Regions from separate parts of the Homo sapiens genome. Here region 1 is linked to region 2. Evidence: promoter capture Hi-C in 16 types of primary human blood cells and fetal thymus (Javierre and others, 2016). All regions are on one chromosome and are shown on one strand. Each heading gives the region's core, a stretch centred on a gene start or on the middle of the fragment in contact. The rest is flanking DNA. Distances are from core to core; before and after follow the strand shown. Region 1 overlaps DYRK4 (dual specificity tyrosine phosphorylation regulated kinase 4). Region 2 holds the start of RAD51AP1 (RAD51 associated protein 1).

Region 1 (2,700 bases), core at 134-2,633, 71 kb after region 2:
TCTCCATGATCCAAAAACCTAAAAGCTGAAGGCCAAGCAAGCAGAAGTTCTCTATGATCCTACTCCAGTGCCAGGGCTGTCTTCCATTCTGATTAGTTGGTTCCATGCCATTCATTCCAATGGTTAATTCTTTTAAACATCATCTGGTAATCATGGCTGGAGCTTTGGAGACCTTGCCTCTGAGCAGGGCAGTGTCCTGGTTGCCATAGAATGGTGACCACACATTAACCGAGCAATCTGGCGGTAGGCAAAGGATCTGGCTGGCTCCCCAGTATAATTTACACATGGAGCACGCGAACTGGTCTTTGGATCCCAAATATACTTTTTCTACCCACAACTTAATAATTCAGCCTTTTGGATTAGGCAGAGTCACTGTGGGAAGACATATCTTGAGCCTGTAACTCTGAACTCATGAGATAGCATCTAGGTGGGGACTAGCAGGAAGGGAACACAGAGCACCTTCGTAGGAACGTACTAAAGACATAGGCATGTCTACTTCATAGAGTTCCTTATTTCTACCATCAGCACTAGGCTTTAGGATGGTGATGGGGTTTTGGCAGCAATATCCATGTCTTCACTTCCTGTGAAAGAAGGAATGTTGCTGAGAACTGCATCTTCGTCAGTGTTTTCCAAACTCTATCCAAATGTAAGAATCATTTGGGGACTTGGCAAAAAAGCGAATTCCTGTGATTCTCTTCTATAAGCTATGCTATGGGAAGATTGCGATAGGACCCAGGATTCGACGTTTTTAATGACGGCTCCTTGTGATTCTTATGACAAAATAAGTTTGGGAAACACGGTTGTCCACTTCAGTTCTTGACTGTTCCTTTCCCAGGTTTGGGCTGCCAACTGCTCCTCTGCCCCGGGCGACTCCTAGTTAATACCCCTAATTAGCAGCAAAATGGTGTTGTCTCAAGGCTGGTAAGATATTATACTTAGGTGGCCCAGGTGGCTCAGGTAGTAAGAAGGGGATGGAGGGAATGACTGATGAGGGCCAGAGTGAGAAAAAACAATTACATGATCATGACTTTAGGAGCTTTGTTATTGATAAGACTGTGAGCTTGATTCTTCTTTGGTCATTGGTAAAAAGGACAATGTAGGATGAAGTGGGAGGGCTAAGGCCATGATCCAAAAGGAAATGGATATTTGTACAATTTCACAGGACCTTGTCACTTAACATTTACTTTACCATTGTCATTATTATCATTAGCATTATTATTTTATCTTGGTTGGTGTTAAGCCATTTAAATTATTTCTTTGATTTGGAGAGGAGGCAGTGGGAAGGAAGTTCAGAACATACTGAATAGTAGGAAAAAATCAATTTTTAAAGTAAATTGCATTCCTTGGGTAATCTACACATGGTTATTTCAAACTGAGTGTGTGTGTGTGTGTTTATTGGGGTGTGGCATGAGGCGAGTGTGTAAGACAGAGAGCAAAAGAGCTACAGAGGCCACTCTAAGCAGCAGCATCATGTGACCACTAAAGATTTACACCTGAAACTAAATACAGAATGTTCTATCTCTACAGATTCCAAAGGTTTTCCTAAAAATATAACCAACAACAGGGGGAAAAAAAGATACCCAGATTCCAAGGACCTCACGATGGTGCTGAAAACCTATGACACCAGCTTCCTGGACTTTCTCAGAAGGTGTTTGGTGTGAGTTTGTTGGGACATCTCTGCTTCTGGGTTTCCTCTTAAATGCTGTACTTTGACACACGTTTGCTGGTGAAAGACTAAGGCTGGGAGATAGTTATAAAAGTAACAAGAAATGCTAACAATAGAGCTTTAAAGTCTACAAATTGCTTCCACATCTGTTGTTTCATCAGACATCTCTCCCTACTGTGTGGTTGTCAGGGCAGATGATTTGCTCTGTTTTGCACGTATGGAGGTTGGGGTTCAAAGAGATTAAGTGACCTGCCCTGGAATACACAGCGTATGGTAGAGTTTGTCATCTTCCTGGCCTCAAACTGCCTGGCAGTGAGATTGTTTGCCAGTCCTAAATGTCTTCTGCTCTGTGAGCTGAAGCCAACCCCCTGACTGCTTGTTGTAATGATTTGCATACACATCCAGTGTAAACTGGTTTCAGGGCCTGTCCCCCTCCCCCTAGGATTTAGTACCCAAATCGTCTTATATTAGGGAATTAGGGGGAAGGTGAGCTGTAAACCATTTATTATGTACAACTTTTTATAATCTATATGCATATTTTGAATCTTAGAAATTAGATCTGTACTTAAGTCGTAGTACCCAGCACAGCACCCAGTTTAAAAGGTGTTTAGAAAACGTTAGCTATTCTTATTATTTTACGACTATTAAAGAGGTAAATCTATCTCCACAGAGTGGCAAGTAGATTATCCATGTGATACTTGGCAAGTCATCACTTTTTTCTGGGCCTCAGTGTTCTTTCCTATAAAATACGGTATTCCTAAGCTCCCTTCCAGTTCTATCAGTCCTATAATTTAGTATTTTTAGAAGACCATATCATTACAGTCTCTTATTCTTCCAGTTGGATGGAGTGATGTTATCAAAATACTCTTCTGGCATCTGTGCTCTCTGGAATTTCAGTACTAGCTCAGAGGGTGAACCATGAGGTAATGATGAAAGTATTCCCATCGTAGGGGGTCATGCTATTCACTCATCAGAATAATCAAGGTAGGGAAGGATCCTGTACCCCATCTTTACCCCTACCTTAACAAATGACA
Region 2 (2,700 bases), core at 142-2,641:
TATTTTATGGTGCTCACTGGAAAAATAAAGAACAAAAAATTATTCATACGGTTATTTAAAAAGATATCACCTGAAATATAAAAAAAACTCAAAGGACTTTTGTACATGTCGTGGGGCGGGGCTAAGTTGAATTATCCAGACTATATTTTCAAATCTGTATGTAGGCTATACACAAAAATCTTCGTCTATTTCACCATAATGCAAAGAGATAGGGTATTTGTTTTACTCAGAAAGAATTAAAATTAAACGTAAAGCAATACAAATTTTTATAATGTTAGAAAACTACCAAAACTACATAAAGGTATATTCTATGATGTAGAAATTTCATTCCTAAGTATATATCCAAATACACACACACGCATATGTTCGCTAAAGTACACCCAGAAGAATGCTCATATAAGTTTTATTTATAATACCCCAAACTGGAAACAACCAAAATGCGTATTAGTAGGAGAATAGTAAACTTGTTTATTTTATGAGATAAATACTACACAGCAATAAAAAAGAATCAACCACTGATAAATGCAAAAATATGAATGAATCAGGAATGTTGAAAAAAAAAAGAGAAGGCAGACACAAAAGCTCTGGTTCAACATTTAGACTTGTGTTTCAAGAAACTGATAACTTTAGTTCTTTCTCCTCTCGCTCTTTTTTTAGACTAATGGTCTATCCTGAAGCCTGGGTTCAGTTTTAGCAACCGTGAAATCCAGGAAGGTTTCCCATAAGAAAATGGGATGGAAGGTCTGGACCGAACACACACAGCCAACAGAGCGGAGGCTCTGAGGCTCACATTAATCAGGGAAAAGGAAGACAGACGGTCGAGCTGAGAAACTTCAGCCGGGTGAGGGGACTAATCCCTCTGTAACGGTTGTCAGTCTGAAAGGGCATCCTCACTCGGTTCTGGGCTCACCTCGTCTAGTTCCGAAGTCCTGGGCAGTCCGCTCACTCGAGCTGTCAGCGCGTCCTGCACTGGGAAACCAGCTGACTTGCCGACATACTTTTTCCACACCGCGGATCCGCGAACGTAGATTCGCCACATCCTTTTCTATTTCCTGGCATCTTGTAGAAAATTTCTCAGTCCAAGTGCCCCTATGTCCCAACCTGTTTCAATTTAACAATTTGAAAGGTGCAATAAGGTGTATTTCTATTGTTATTCTGTATTTCAGAGACAGGGCAAATCCGCCGTTGTGACGAAAGTGCAGGGACAAAGCACAAACTCGGCTCTGGTGGACCGGATACGGAAAAGCGGTGCCTTGGGGAGGGCGGGAGCAAATTCGCTTTCCCCACAGCGCGTGCGCCGCCGCAAGCATGGCTGGTGATGATTGGACGACTGGTAACAGGGGGCGGAGGGCTCCGAAGTCTGGTTTTGGGCGGGAATTGAAACCGCCGCTGAAGCCAACAAGAATTTGAGAACTGTAAATACCAAGCCTTGAAAGGGACCATGGTGCGGCCTGTGAGGTGGGTAGTTCCTGACATTCGTCGGGGGTGGGAGGAAAACTAAGGGAAAAGACATGAGACTAAGGGGAAAGGATCGAGTAAGACCGGAGGGCAGCGATGGTGGGGTTAGGATGGACGGTTATCAAGAACCCAGTCTCCAGTGAGAGCCACCCGTTGCTCAGAAGTATCCTAGCATCGTAGCTTTTTCCTTCTCTTTGCCTCCCTTCACAACCGTCGCCGTTTCTTTTACCAAGACCTTGTTAGCGTTTGAACAGCGCTTTACATTTCACCGAGCGCCCAATTATGTGTTATTTTATTTGTTTATCACTGTAGTTATTTGATATAGAAAGAGTAAGCATTCCTGTTGTATTGATTTAACATTTCTACGTATAGAGGGTAAGTTATCTGAGTCATACAGCCCAGTAAGTGGCAGGGCAATACTCAAACCTAAGTCATCTCACTCAAGATCCTCTGTGCTTTCCATCGTGGTATTAGAAACGATTCTTCTATTTACACAGTTGAGTGCCATGGAAGCCTATAGTTAGCCATTCATTTAATAAAGTTATTGAATATATTCACTTCTTTAGTGTACGAGGTGCTGGAGGTTACATTCCAGTGGGAGGTGAGGTTAGGGGGCCGAAAATAAGCCTCGAAATATGAGAGTGCGAAAGAGGAAAGCACTACTTTAAATATAGTAGTTAATATGTGACTCTGAGGCGATAATGCATGCACTGAGTCATGAATCAGGGTAGAGGGAATAGGAGCCAAGGCCCCATACTTGACCATATTTTAGGGACAGTCTAATGCTATAGGATTAACAAGCAGTGGGGAGAATCGTAGGGGGATTAGGCCAGAGAAATAGGCAGGTGCCAGAACAGATAGGGTCTTGTAAGTCTTAGAAAGGAGTTTAGGTTTTATTTTAAGTCAATGGGAAGTCAGTGGAGGGTTTTAAGTAGGGGAGAGGAATCTAAGTTTGCTTTTATAAAGGTCACTGGCTGTTGGTGGAGAATAAATGATGGATAGGGTGACCAGAACGGGAGCAGGAAAATCAGGTATTATATCATTGGAGAGCGGTTTGGGATAGGGTATTATTAGTGGGCATGGAATGGAACAGATGAATTTGGGATGTATTTCGGAGGCACTGTGGACAGAACTTGCTGATGAAGTAGATGTACAGGTAAGGGAAAGAAAGAATCAGAGATGACTCCACAATAGTTTTGGTCTGAGCTACAGGATGGATGATCTTTGTATTAAGATAGGGAA

Evidence for each region. Contacts are between HindIII fragments. The CHiCAGO score rates a contact against its expected background, and 5 or more counts as called.
Region 1: a contact is called between a fragment that was not itself captured here and the fragment with the promoter of RAD51AP1 in region 2, in 1 of 17 cell types (M2 macrophages). The highest score is 5.0, in M2 macrophages.

Annotation. Positions count from the first base shown.
Region 1 is chr12:4,608,628-4,611,327 of GRCh38, forward strand. DYRK4 (dual specificity tyrosine phosphorylation regulated kinase 4) reads left to right here. Exons shown (of 15, transcript NM_001394779.1): 13 at 1,528-1,657. Among named protein-coding and RNA genes, the nearest start is that of AKAP3, 39 kb to the right of the region's middle. The HindIII fragment of the contact is 4,491 bases long and covers 1-2,700 here.
Region 2 is chr12:4,537,499-4,540,198 of GRCh38, forward strand. RAD51AP1 (RAD51 associated protein 1) reads left to right here and starts at 1,392. Exons shown (of 9, transcript NM_006479.5): 1 at 1,392-1,458. The coding sequence starts at 1,442. It overlaps FERRY3 (FERRY endosomal RAB5 effector complex subunit 3), which reads right to left and starts at 971. Exons shown (of 14, transcript NM_020374.4): 1 at 911-971. RefSeq lists enhancers at 606-1,215, 1,216-1,824 and a silencer at 951-1,000. The HindIII fragment of the contact is 5,379 bases long and covers 1-2,700 here.